Regions from separate parts of the Homo sapiens genome. Here all the other regions are linked to region 4. The links are contacts of gene promoters, found by promoter capture Hi-C in human tissues and cell types (Jung and others, 2019). All regions are on one chromosome and are shown on one strand. Each heading gives the region's core, a stretch centred on a gene start or on the middle of the fragment in contact. The rest is flanking DNA. Distances are from core to core; before and after follow the strand shown.

The links. The method cuts DNA at HindIII sites, captures the fragments that hold promoters and counts their contacts. A contact is called where the count stands out against the background at its distance.
Region 1: a fragment that was not itself captured here is called in contact with the fragment with the promoter of BCL11A in region 4 in 1 of the 25 tissues and cell types used here (dorsolateral prefrontal cortex).
Region 2: a fragment that was not itself captured here is called in contact with the fragment with the promoter of BCL11A in region 4 in 1 of the 25 tissues and cell types used here (dorsolateral prefrontal cortex).
Region 3: a fragment that was not itself captured here is called in contact with the fragment with the promoter of BCL11A in region 4 in 1 of the 25 tissues and cell types used here (dorsolateral prefrontal cortex).
Region 5: a contact is called between a fragment that was not itself captured here and the fragment with the promoter of BCL11A in region 4, in 1 of the 25 tissues and cell types used here (dorsolateral prefrontal cortex).

The regions. Positions count from the first base shown.
Region 1 is chr2:58,845,942-58,848,641 of GRCh38, forward strand. The region is part of intron 2 of LINC01122 (long intergenic non-protein coding RNA 1122); the gene reads left to right. Among named protein-coding and RNA genes, the nearest start is that of LINC01122, 330 kb to the left of the region's middle. The HindIII fragment of the contact is 3,213 bases long and covers 1-2,700 here.
Region 2 is chr2:58,657,714-58,660,413 of GRCh38, forward strand. The region is part of intron 2 of LINC01122 (long intergenic non-protein coding RNA 1122); the gene reads left to right. Among named protein-coding and RNA genes, the nearest start is that of LINC01122, 140 kb to the left of the region's middle. The HindIII fragment of the contact is 6,196 bases long and covers 1-2,700 here.
Region 3 is chr2:59,046,028-59,048,830 of GRCh38, forward strand. The region is part of intron 12 of LINC01122 (long intergenic non-protein coding RNA 1122); the gene reads left to right. Among named protein-coding and RNA genes, the nearest start is that of LINC01793, 170 kb to the right of the region's middle. The HindIII fragment of the contact is 4,193 bases long and covers 1-2,803 here.
Region 4 is chr2:60,552,240-60,554,939 of GRCh38, forward strand. It overlaps BCL11A (BCL11 transcription factor A), which reads right to left and starts at 1,415. Exons shown (of 4, transcript NM_022893.4): 1 at 977-1,415. The coding sequence starts at 1,031. RefSeq lists silencers at 126-485, 1,895-1,984 and an enhancer at 2,675-2,700. The HindIII fragment of the contact is 9,532 bases long and covers 1-2,700 here.
Region 5 is chr2:59,250,682-59,253,381 of GRCh38, forward strand. All of the region lies in intron 1 of LINC01793 (long intergenic non-protein coding RNA 1793), which reads left to right. The region is part of intron 2 of LOC105374754 (a long non-coding RNA gene); the gene reads right to left. Among named protein-coding and RNA genes, the nearest start is that of LINC01793, 34 kb to the left of the region's middle. RefSeq lists an enhancer at 1-139. The HindIII fragment of the contact is 5,585 bases long and covers 1-2,700 here.

The DNA of each region.
Region 1 (2,700 bases), core at 102-2,601, 1.7 Mb before region 4:
CAATTCATAGTCTCAATAATTTAGCCCTTTAAAAAATATATTCCCTTTCCCTTCTTTTAAAAATATTTTGTCCCTTCTCCTCCCTGCCCTGACTGTATTAGAAGCTATCTGCAGAGGGCTGACTTCTAAGTCAGATAAACTAGAATGAAAGTACTGCCATTTACTAGTTGTGGCATCTGAGGCACCTGGGGATGATAATAATAATAATTACTTTATAGGGTTGTTGAAGGGGGTAAAAGAGGTAGGTTATATGAAGCATAAAACATATTATATGGGCTCATTAAATTCTTGTTCTGAGATTAATTTACTGATTCTTTTCTAAGGAAAGCTTTCTTTTTAAGGAGTGGAGGGAGAGAAAGACCTCTCCTTTTTTAAAACCAAGGACACATGTCCCCAGTTTTTGTCCCCCAAACTTATGGCCCCTTAAACTATTGAAGATTTTGTGAACTTTCATTTAATTTCATTCTTGAAGCTTAGTCAATTGTTTATTGCTTTCAGATCATTTTACTTAACAGACATTAATTGAGCTCCTATTATGTGTCAAATACTGTACTTGACACAATGAAGAAAATTTCTATTAACTTCTAAAATCCCTGTCTGCAGATCTGTGAAATAATTTTTTATACCATGGATTCATACAGTGTTCTTCCTTTCCCCATGTTCCCTATATGCCATCTTAAAAATTAAACTTGGGCAAGGGAAGAAAATATCTATGGAGAGAACCCAGTGGATTATAGCATTCAAAGTTACTTTCAACAGGCTGAACACCTAGGATACTGTTTGGGCAAGGTATGAGCCATGCCCAACTCATGTCATCCTATAGCTATCATGCTTACATTAACACATTGTTGTATACAAGTAACTATGCCTTACATCACATCATTTGATCCCCTTTGTCTTTATTATTAATAGATGTAGATCCACCACTTTAACTCATAGTCACCATAGTTTACCCCATTTTAAGTTTGTACATGCAATCCATTTAGCCATAAAACACATTATTCCAAAAGCAATATTTAGCTAGTCTAACAGTATTAACAGTCTACCACCAAAAATTCCTGACAAATTTGTTATTGTACAGGTCAGAGCATTCATAGTTTCTAACTAGGATAAAGCAGCTTACTTAGATTTACAAGACAAAAACAAAGCTGAAACAATTTTGCCTTGATGATACCAAAAACTCAGTAATTGCTTTTCTCTTCCCACTTGTAGTAATGGATAGCAAACGGATTATTATTGACATTGGTAGTTTCATCAAATTTTCAAATTGGGAGATACCAGCTAGTCACTTGTTCTTCAAATTGTGGTTTATGAGCCTGCAGCATTGGCATAACATAGGAGCTTGTTTGGAATGCAGAATCTCAGGCCCGCCCTAGAGCAACTGAATCAAGATCTGTATCTTCACAAAATACCCAGGTGATTTTTACACTCTTTAAATTTTTTGAAGCGCCATTCTAATCCACCTTCATCTCTGTCCTCCTTTAAGAAATGAGAAAGTTCACACTCAGAGTTAGTGTAGAGCTAAGATTAGAACCTCAGCCCCCTGACTCCAAGGTTACTGCTCTCTTCTGTGCTCAGAGCAACCTCAATAGCTTCTGAGTACAGTGTGGAAGTGAGTGACCCTTGCCCACCACTTGATGTTTGGTGGTCTAGTAAAGTAGACTGCAAGATTAGAGAATCACCTTCTCTTTAACCTCCATTCCTTTTCTGTGAGAAACTATTTGGCTTATCACCCCCTATGGCCTAAATCCTCCCAAAGAAGAGTGAAGCTTTAATGAGGCTAGAACCCTCTTATTGTCTTGAATTTTAGATGTTTGTCAGCATCTATGATAGGAATTCTTTCCCTAACTCACAGTTCATGGTTGTATAGTGCATCTCCATTCATACGAGGAGGATAGAAAAAGCTGAGCCAAACCCTGTTAACAAAACAGTCCCCCGAAGGGCTATAATATTGCTCAGTGGTAATATCATCCCTATGCATTTTATCTTATACATGAAATCTTGACTAATTATCATTTTCTCATACAGTACATTTTAGACCATTGTGTTTTTGTGTCCCTGCCTAGTTCATTAAGCAGGGTTTTACGGCTCCTCCAGTAACAGAATCGCTATTGACACTTTCATTAGACCCATAATTCAAATGCTTGTCTGCCTTCCAAATGGAAGCCTCTGAGTCCAGAACCACAATCTGGCCACCAACCGTATGTTGGCTTTTAGAACTGTCATAAACTCATCATCACATTCAAGTTCTTGAAGGGTCAAAATCTGCTTTCTTGGTGAACTGTCTTCATCCAACAAACAGTCAACGTGTTCTCCAGGAATAGTCAGCCAATTTTTCTCTGTCGCTCTCTGAAAACTCTTCCAGACAGTTCTCAGTGTGGTATGACTATAGCACAAATAATCAGTGTCCACATTTAAATATTAATTCTCTTATTTATTCATTCATTCAATTATTTTTACAATTTAAGACCAATATACCAAATATTATGGCAGTTGCTGTAGTGATTTAAAGATGAATAAGATGGTGTCTGCCTTGGAGTTTCTTATCGTCAGAAGATATGTATATAAATCACTATGTGAAAAATTTTACTTCTAAGTTGCCAACAGTTGGAACGGCGGTGATTGTAGATTTCTTTGCTCTAACTAATGGCTATTATCAACACTGGTTCTTTACCAGTGGTTCAAATGGAAATAGACTCG
Region 2 (2,700 bases), core at 50-2,549, 1.9 Mb before region 4:
ACACACGATGTTTAAAAAAAAATTAGTCCTGTTTCTCAAGGAAATGGAAACTGTCTGGGTGTGTGGACCCTGGGAGATGGATACTTGAACCTTTATCTATTTTTTCCTTACCAAAAAGAAGAAGGAATTTCATATGCGTTTTACCATTTTCTTAGTTTTAGACAGCAATTTGCAGCCCCTGGTTATGCAATCTGAAGCTTTTGCTCAGATTCTCTTAGCAATGTGTGCATTTGCAAGGCCAGTTCTATAGGCCCACATGCATATACACACTGGCAAATTAAAAATGGACCTGGGAAAACACCCTTCTCCTAGGAGAGTCATATCAAGCAGTGTTTAAATTAAATAATTTGCAGAGTGTAGGGAATAAAGCTTTGTAGCAGTATCTGGAGGTTATCTTCCCTTGGGAAATTTCTGCCATTTAGTACAATCTGGTGCATGCCAATGAGACACACACTCATGCATACACACACTAGTAGATATATTTTATTTTACATCTAAATTATATTTATTTCTTTAGGTTATCTGCCATTTCATGTTCATGTTGAGGAGGAAAAAAAAAGAGACAAACTTCTTGTGAAGGGTTGAGGTCATTAAGATCCAAACAAAAGCAAAGAAAGGTTATTAGTGAGCAGAAATGAGGGAGGGCTGACTGTGGCGTAAAGCCAGTTACCCCACAGCTTCTGGGGGAGCATGGCTGTGATTGGGAGACTGATCAAGCTCAGGTCACTGATTTTGCTCCCAGCCCATTGACTGGTGGTAAAAGGGGAGCCATTGTTGTGATGAGATAATGTGAGTAGGTAAGCCACAACTAGCCGAAATTAGTTGATTTCTTGCTTCTTGTCTTCCTTAACCAATATCAAAGCCAAATTGCATGTTAAGGAGTTTGTCGGTTAGAACCTCATGCTATGTTTCTAGTTAATGCATTCCTCTATAGCCAAATGTATTCTTAGCGTAATCAGCATACCTGTCCACCTGTGGAGAGAATGAAGCCTGTCACATGTAAGGATGTTGAATGAAATGTTAGCAGGACAAGAGAGGGTTAGAGGGAGAGGGAGAGAGAGAACGCGCACAAACAGAAGAAGATATCTACCTCTGTACAGGTTATTTTGAAAGATCCTATTTATAAAAATTGGGATAGGCTCAAGTGAAAATAGTTATTTTTTCCATTTCCAAGATTATCTTTGTACCCTTTAGACTCCCACTTTTATCTTTTATGTAAGAAAATTCTTGCAAATTACTAGTAGCCGGTGTAGAAGCTGTGAGTTATAGTGCAACTCTCAGTGAATCCCGCATTCTGGCTCCCCCAATTCTTTGACAAAAATATACAGCTACTGGTGTATGTTAGTTTGCTTGGGCTGCCTTAAAAAATACCATAGACTAGGTGGCTTAAATGCAGAGATTTATTTTCTCACAGTTCTGAAGGCTGGAAGTCTGAAATCAAGGTGTTGGCATGGTTGGTTTCTTCTAAGGCCTCTTCCCTTTCTCTGCAGAGAACCACATTCTTGCTATGTTTCTCACATGGTCATTCCCCTTTATGCACAAATTTCCTCTTTTTCTAAGGATAGCAGTCACATTGGATTAGGGCCCATCTAAAGACCCCATTTTAACTTAATTAGCTCTTTAAAGCTCTTATCTCCAAATACTGTTACATTCTGAGGTACCGGGGCTTAGGCCTTCAACATATGAATTTCAGGGGAACGTAATTCAGACCATAACAACTAGACTTTCCAAGATAGTTGGTAGAGCTATAATTTTTAGATTTGTTTTTGCCTGTTTATCTAGAGATTTATTCTTCCCACTTTCCTTTCTTTTTCTGCATTTTTGTTAATACTGGACTGAAAGTAATTTGTTACAATGATTCTAGGTGGATGTGTTCTGTTGTTTTAAGAATGGTTTGGGGAAAGAAATAGAAAGCTTATTTAAGAAAACAAATCTTGCTTGATATTTTTTCTTTTAAATTCAAGCCGGCTCCATCATGTTCTCTGACCTTAGCAAGTTACTCAGCCACACTGTGCCTCCTCTTTCTCCTCTGTATACTGTGGATAATAAAAAGAAATTTTCGAAAGGTTGCTGGGAGGATTAATTGAGATAATACATGTAAAGTGTCTAGCATGGTCCCTGGATCACAGCAAGTGCTCCGTAAATAGTATTTATCCAATAACCATAATAACCACAGACACCTACAGAATTCTATGTTGTACACTGGTGCTGGACAAAATGTAATACCCTTTCTGAATTTCATTTGATTACAGACTTATTTCGTGCTTTTAGAAGTGGAGCTAGGAGCAGATTCCTTTTAAAAATTATTTTAAGTGGACTTTGACAGAGGCTTGGACTCACAAAGTGTAGATAAAGCACAGACAGGCTTTATTGTTATCTTCTGTTTCACCAGACCAAAAGAAAGATCTTTGGTTGATAAGCAGAGTTAGAAAAACAGAGAAGAGGGAGTGGCTGGGGTCTTCTGATACCTTGTGGGTCAGTAGGAACCCAGTTTCTTCTCTGGAGAATCTCAACCTGTGCAGCATGAGTAAACAGACCTGGCATGCGCCCTGTGGTCGTACGGAGGGACCAGTCACCAGGCCCTCTCTTTGTCCACGGGAGACAGTGGCTTTCTAGCCTTGGAGGCCCAAGCACATTGGACCACTGGATATTCAGAATTGGGATGTCAGACAGAGGTTACCCACAAGGCTTTCAAAATGT
Region 3 (2,803 bases), core at 101-2,600, 1.5 Mb before region 4:
TCGCCATAACACCTCTACAGGTGTGCCCTTGACTTCTATTAAGAATCACCAGCTAAATAGGTGAAATACACAGCTGTATATTTCCACTGCAGCATCTTTTAGCAAGCAAGGGGCTGTGTCTAGGTGAATCAGAATATGCTGGCTGGTGGAGCTCAGACACAATAATGTGTTTTTTTCAGGAAAAATAAGTGTGACAGTGTTTATTTCACACACAATTGTTTGTCAGAGGACTTCAAAGGGGTGGGCAGAGATCAGTTAAGCATTGCCACCTGTCCCATAGGTTGTGCTTCTTCTTTTCAGGTGGGACTCTGAGGTCATTAGCACTGGGGTGGCTTATCCTCTGTTCAGCTCCTGTGCCACAACGTAAGACAGGAATCCTGCCAGGAGGAGGACTTGGGTCCTGGCTCCTAACCACCCCCGTTGGACTCCAGCTGCCAGTGCCGCCCAAAGAAGAGAGCATGCCGCCTGGCTTTAAGAAAGCTTGCAGCCCCTGAGAGTGGCAGGTTAAAAACCTATAGGGTGGTTCAATAAAAGGCAATGCCTTGCTCCGTCCTGTGCTGCTATTGTACATTGGAACACATGCTGCTAGGAGACAAAGAGGACACGCGTTTATTTTCAAGCGTAGGACTTTGGAACCACTTGGGAAGAATATTCTTGATTGAGAACCAAAACATTCCATGATGCTTAACAAACCTGCAAATTGAAAAATCAGCTTCGGCCTGTGCAGTCAGGAGGCAGGAAAAGGACCTATACCCTGAAAAAAAAAATCAAAATATTCCTTAAATGATATTTGTGTGCATTTACAAAGTTACCGCTTTCTGAATCAAAGTCTCAAGCTGTTTTCATCTGAGAACATATGTTGTGCTGTTAGACAATATCTCAGCCTGCCGCCATCCATGACATACCCTGCCGCATTGCATAATGGACAGTCCCTTGAAAAAGGAGCCGCAGCTCAGTCAATGCCCCTGTAATAATATTTTAAAATAAATGATATGCATCATTAAATCACTGAGGATGACTAACTCAATTTTAGAAAACCCACAACTCCAGCAATCATAGTTACAGCTCTGATTTGAATATTTTCACTTTCACCTGAGCAGCCAGTGGGAGCCAGTCAAGCAGATTGGGCATCCAGGCAGAGGAAGGCTGTGTCTCCGAGGAGCAGGAGGGAACCTGTGATTATGTAGTTACAGTAACGTCGGCTCATGCCTCGTGTCCGCCTGGGCTTTTTAGGCTTTTCCTTCCTCCCTTCTTGGCTTCTTATTTACATATCACAGGCATCCTCTTTGTAAAGTTATTTTAAATAATGTATTAGATTGATCTTTTTAAAATTCTACCATGGCTAAATGTCATAAGGAAAAAAAAATAAGTCTTCGAAACTTATTTAAAGGTTTCTACTGGAGTAGGCCAGTTACCTGCTTCACTGCTGATATTCTAAAAATACCTCCATGTCCATACTATTATCCATTCTTCACGTCCAATTGCTCTGTTATGGTAATAGTCAGAAGCACACCATGCAGTAATTACTTACAGCTGACTGAAGAAAAGAATATTCAACTCCCCCACTGTTCCACTAGAAGGTCTTTATGCACTATTAACTCATTCCTGTTTATTAATACTCTACTGGTAATTCAGACTGCTGCCTCTTAGGTTTGTAATAGGAGGACTATTAAACAGCAATTACTGACCATATGGGTTGGTGAATATTTGTTGTTTTTTGGTGGGCTTTTCCCCCCCTCCTTCCAACTTGTTTTTTAAGAAGCCATATTACAACATAGTAAAAGTATCATCACATCTGCATGAGATTAACAAGCTTGGCAGGATTTCTCCCTTAGAAAATGTGTATTTATTCCCAGATTATCATCGCTAGCTTAAGAAAAGGAGAACGTGGGAGAAACAGGAAAATGTGGGAGATTGTTCTCTTGTGAGAAGACCCCTACTTTGGAAGATATTTTGGATCTTATGTTTCCTAAGTCACTCTGTGGGATGTTTTCTTTTACTGACTTTGAAAGGACACTGACCCACTCTCAAACACCATCAGCTTCTCAAAGCAAGCATAGTTATTGAGGAATCCAGTCAAATACCACTCTCCATTTCAAGTTCCCCAAGTGTTTGAAAGGGATCACTGTAAAATTGATAATTTAGTAAATTTATCTCCCAAAAAGCAGGTATATGAACCCTGAGAGGTGACGAAGGGTTCCCCCTGGGAGAGGGATGGCAATGAGTAATGGGTTCAAGTGAGGCAAGCAGGTGGTAAATGATGATTATGGTAATAATAATGTGTGCCTCTCTCACAGGTAGTGAACACTGAGCATGTTGCAAGCATTAAACACATTTAAATGGAGATGCATCTTTAAGATAAATAGGAGCCCGGGAGCTAATTTTCATTGGAAATTGAAGAGTTGAGATCCAGGACAGAGAAGTCACTTGACCAGCAACCTCCACTAACATGATGGCAGTGGCTAGGTGTCTAGGCTGTTTGACATAGTAAGCTTTTGCTCCAAGGCAGCCAGTCTCCTTAGGGTCCCTTGTGCTTATCTTCTGATTTTTCCCCTTTTCCTATAAGGAGCCATTCTCTCTTTATGTCCAAATCTTTCTAGCCCTTCAATAAACAGATCAAATCCCACCCCTGACCCCAAAACTCCAGCTCGCTTTGATCTTGCCCTTTTCAAACTACCAAGCAGATTTAGTGTCAGTACCACACCTTTGGCAGGTGGTTGTAGCTAATTTAGCACTCTCCCTTTGTTACCTGATGGTGTTGTGTGTGGAAGTTTTTTTTTCTCCTCGATACACTCTAAATCCT
Region 4 (2,700 bases), core at 165-2,664:
TGTTTTATTTATTTTATTTTTATGTATTTATTTATTTATGTGCCAGTCTTCTCCTTGCTGCCTCTGAGGTTCGGTCGGGAGGGGAGGGCAGCGGCAACCCAGGAGGCAGCAGTCCGGGCTCCCTCCCTCCCTCTCCCGCGTGCCCCCGGCCGCCTCCTCCCCCGGCCCTAGCTCCTGCCCTTCGGCGGCGGCGGCGGCGGCGGCGCGGGAGGGCAAGCGCGAGGAGCCGGCACAAAAGGCAGCGGGACAAACACCCACCTCTGGCCGGAACAAAAGGCGGCAGTGCCGGCCGCGTCTCCCGTCCTTCCCGGTCCCACGGCTCTCCCCGTCGCCGCGGCCCCTCTCCCGACTCCGCGGACTCAGGAGCGCCGGGGGCCCCTTTCCACAGTGCCACTTTCTCACTATTGTGGGGATGACTACTTTCCTCCCGCTGCACACTTGACCGTGAGCGCGCTGGTGTCCAAAAGCCAGTCTCACCTCTTTTCTCCCCGGGAATCGTTTTTTAGACTTGTACTCACTCCCTCCCTACCCCCCCATTTTCTTACGGTGAGTGGGAAGCAACCTCCCTTTCCCCACCAGCTCCCACCCCCAGGTTTGCATGTGAGTTGTTCGCAACCTTAGCATTGTTCATTATTTTGCAAAACTGGCGGGGCGGGGGGGGAGTGGAATCATTGCATTCCTTTTCGAAAAGAGAAATAAAGCGGCGGAAAGGAGGAAAGAGGAGGAGTCAAATTTTTGTAAAATTAAATAAAATTAAAAGGTGCGTGCTGTCTCAAAAGTGCATACACGGCAATGGTTCCAGATGGGATGAGGGTTTTTTCCCCCTTTATCTCTTTTACCTCGACTCTCGGAGGTTTTTCTCGTGAAAAATTTAAAAATGCATGCACACACCCCTCTCTCCCCCTCGCTTTTGCTTCTAGTCCTGCGCGCTCTCGTGATTATTAATAATTATTATTACTATTATTGGGTTACTTACGCGAGAATTCCCGTTTGCTTAAGTGCTGGGGTTTGCCTTGCTTGCGGCGAGACATGGTGGGCTGCGGGGCGGGCGGCGGCGGCGGCGGCGGCGGCGGCGGGCGGACGACGGCTCGGTTCACATCGGGAGAGCCGGGTTAGAAAGAAGGAGACTCCAGAGAAAATATCTTCATCAGTGCCTTTTGACATCCAAAATAAATTAGAAATAATACAAAGATGGCGCAGGGAAGATGAATTGTGGGAGAGCCGTCATGGCTTTTTTTTAAGCAAAAAAAAAAAAAAAAAAAAAAAAAAAAAGAGGGAGAGAGAGAGAAGAGAGATAGAGGGAGAGAGAGAGAGAGAGATGAAAAAAATGGCAAAAGCCCCCCTGAGCTGCAAGTTCAAGTGCGGACGTGACGTCCCTGCGAACTTGAACGTCAGGAGTCTGGATGGACAGAGACACACAAAACATGGGCAGGGCGAGCAGGAGAGAAGGGGAGGAGGGAAGGGGAAGCTCACACCAATGGACACACATCAGGGGCTGGACATGAAAAAGAGACCAGGACAAGCCAATGGCCAGTGCGGGGAGGGGGAGGTGCGGGGCGGGGGGCTCCGCGGACGCCAGACGCGGCCCCCGGGGGAGGGGCGGGCCGAGGGGAGGGGGCGCTGGGGCCGCGGGCTCACCAGTGGCCGCAGCGAGCGCCGCGGCGGTGGCGTGGCCGGGAGAGAAGAAAGGGGTGGCAGGGGTGGGAGGAAAGGGTGGGGGGGAGCAAGACGTGCGCCCTGCTCCCCCCCACACACGCGGACTCTAAAATGAAAGATTATTCAAAAAAGAAAAAAATAGAGCGAGAGTGCACCGGGAGGCTGCAGCCCCGGGCTGGGGAAGCGCGGGCGGAGGGAAGCCAGGTAGAGTTGCTCCCGGACACCCTCCTCCGTACGCACACCCACTTCCCCTCCCCGCCGCCGCCGCGCTCGCTCCCCGCGTGTGGACGCCAGGGGCCGAAGTAAAAGCCCCGAGCCCGCGGCTGCGCTCGGGAAACTTTGCCCGAGGAGAGGACAGCAAAGAAAAATCACCCGAAGTTGAGAGCTGAGCCTCCAAGTTACAGCTCCGCAGCGGGCGAGGGGAGGTGGGAGGGAGCGCACGGCAACGCGGAATCCAGCCTAAGTTTGGAGGGCTGCGGGTCCGGAAGGGCAGCGCCCAAGTCTCCAGGAGCCCGCGCGGCCTGGAAAGAGGGGACCGGGGAGAGGCAGGCGGCGCAGGCCGGGGCCCGAGGGCGCCCCCAAGGCCGAGCCAGGGACCGGGAATCTGAGCGCCCCGCCAAGCGACTGGGTCTGAATGCAACTGAAAGCGCCGAGTCCCCGGCTCCTAAGGGTCGCAGAAAGAGAGCCCGAGGAATAAAGAACGAGGAGCCAGAGTCTGGCCCCCGGAGGGGAGCGCCGGGGGCCTGGGCAAGAGAGGCACCGAGGCGTCCACCTCTCTGAGAGGCCGAGGACAAAGCGCGGGCAGTCCCGGGAGTCCCAGTCCCTGGGAATGTGCTCACGGCGCCGCGGGAGGTCCCCGAGCCGGGTCCCTGGGAGGGACACACCCCCTCCCACTCCAGAGCAACTGCAAAAGCACAGAGGGATGGGAAGAAAATGTTTCTTACGGGCAGAGCACAACTGTTCCTGTGCTGTTACCCAGGGAAAGAGAAAATGGGAATGGAGAGAGAGCGACAGGCTCGCAGGAGCAGCGGGGAGACCACGGTG
Region 5 (2,700 bases), core at 29-2,528, 1.3 Mb before region 4:
GAGAAAACAAATCGGAAATTTTGCTCTGAATGAGAATTTTTTTAAAAAGATAATTATCACTTGTAAATCTTAAAGTCATCACATTTTTATTTCAGCTATTTTGTAGGTATGCTATTGCTAAGAGTGTGAAGAAGTGAAATATTTGTTACTCTAAGTAGTGACAGAAAAACATTAAATGTTAAGGAACATGGTTGCAGGCGTAGGAATGAAAATTGAAATTTTTAGTCAATTATCTAAATTTTTACAAATAGTTCTGCATGCTTGGCTTATTGACTACTCTTATCAATTTTTGGCTAGAAATTTGGCATCGTGCTATATTTAAGCCAAGCTAGCTACAGTGAATGTGCTATTTGATATATTCCTTATGTCTGTGCTCTGGCTAAATATACATTTTTCAATTATAAAATTCTCCATTCCTACATAGAAAGAACATTACTATTATAAGCCAAAAAGAAATAAAGGAATGGGATGGACATGTATGTATTACAGGCACATATATATGGTCATGTGCATGATGTACTCATGAATGAATGATTTCATGTTCTTGAATTAAATGAGTTCCCCTTAGGGATGTTTTCATGGTGACCCCACTGCAACCAGCTGCAAAGCTTACCCTTTCGACCACTGTATCTATAGGAACCAGAGGTGCCATTAAAACCAGCAATGCTAAGTCCTTAGATTATGCCAATGAAAATAAATTTATTCACCAGAGTAAAATCACAGATGGCTTCCAGTCATATATTGTGGTTTGTGATGTTTTATGTCCAAGTCCCAATTTAGTTCATAAATATAGGTAAAAGGAACCAAACTAGAAAATTTGGTTCTGATTTTCCTGGGCTCCAGAGCCAGAGTCTTATTTAATTCCCCTGTCTGTCACTGATAGCTGAGTAACCTTGAGTAAATTACCTAGTCACTCTGATACCTCAATTTTTCCATCTGTGCTTTGGAAATATTATTAATAGGCACCTCATAAGTAAGTTTGTTAAAATTGTTTAATGAATATTAAACATATTAAATGCTTAGAATGATGTCTGGCACATAGCTAATATTCAAAAAATATTTTATTAGTGATAATGATGATGATAATAATGATAATAATTTCTACAACAAGAAAAAAGGTAACACTTATCTAGGAAACACAACTAAGGTGGAATAATAGATTTGTCCTACTCTTCCAAGGTTGGTATACACATTAATATTAGGTTGTCCTGGGGCTGGGTGAGGTGGCTCACACCTGTAATCCCAGCACTTTGGGAGGCCGAGGCGGGTGGATCACCTGAGGTCAGGAGTTTGAGACCAACCTAACCAACATGGTGAAAACCCATCTCTACAAAAAATAAAAAAATTAGCTGGGTGTAGTGGCACGTGCCTGTAGTCCCAGCTACTCGGGAGGCTGAGGCATGAGAATCACCTGAACCCAGGAGGCAGAGGTTGCAGTGAGCCAAGATCGTGCGGCTGCACTCCAGCCAGGGTGACAGAGTGAGACCCCCATCTCAGAAACAAAAACAAACAAACAAACAAACAAACAAAAATTAGGTTGTCCAGAATAAGAGTCACCGTTTAACCATTTACTAACTGTGTGCATAGGCAAATTATTTTATTTTCTATGTAATAAGATAATAACCGGTTACTGTGGCTGTTGTAAAGATGAAAATAGACCGTACACATCACTTGCTTAGTACCTTGTGTGGCCAGAAGGGCTGCTCCTAAGTTGTGTTATTCTCCAGGCCAAAAATTAAAAAAGGTCTCCTTTTTTATAACCAGTTTGATTTAAAATAATATTACAAACCTCAAGAGCCAGTTATTAAAAATTTAGAGAAAAGGGTAGAGAAGAAAATCTTACATATTTTTTCTTGTGTAATTAACGTGTGTGAAAGCTTTTCAGTGTCCAGGCACCATCTGTTCAGGTGCAAGAAACTTCTCTTTATGTTTTTTCTTTTACTTTTTGATTTTCAGAATTACCGGGTCTGACTAAATCACAACTCCCACTGTGAAAAAAGCTAGCAATGCTGATATTACTTACTCTGCCATGACTCTTCAGAACTTGTATATATTGATATAATATTGATGATCTTGCTTCTGAGCTTCCCTAGTACCATTTTGTAAAAGTCTAGTTATAATAGGACTTGTGTCACTTCATCATCCATTGCACTGTTTGTAGATATTGGTTTCCAGTAATTCTCTCAAAGGCTGTTTTTGTGCTTCATTGATGATGACCACGATTGTAAGTCTTACCCAGAGGATGCAGAAAATGTGAGGAATAACTTATTCCCTGATCATGTTAAGTTTACCGTTCAGAATTCTATAGCATACAAATAGAAACAATATATCTTCCAACCATGCTTTCTCATGAACTAATTGGGCTGTAACATTGCATTCCTAGAATGTGATCTCTTTCAATGTTGTCTGCATCCGTACCTTCCACTCACTTCCACTAGCTAGAAGGGTAGAAAAGGAGGAAGGCACTAAGTGAGAAAAATGGTCCTATTTGTACAAAAAAGTCTGTCCTTTGACCAGCATGGCCTAAATCTATCCAGAATTTCATGATGTGACCACATCAATTGGAGGCAATAAAGAACATTAATGGGAAGGCCCCCTTACTGTGTGGAGCAGTGGTCTTGGAAGCCTCAGGGGAGATAGTTGCAGCCACCTGGTAGATTGTCTAAATATGGTACAGAGCCTGCAGAAGGAATAGGATGA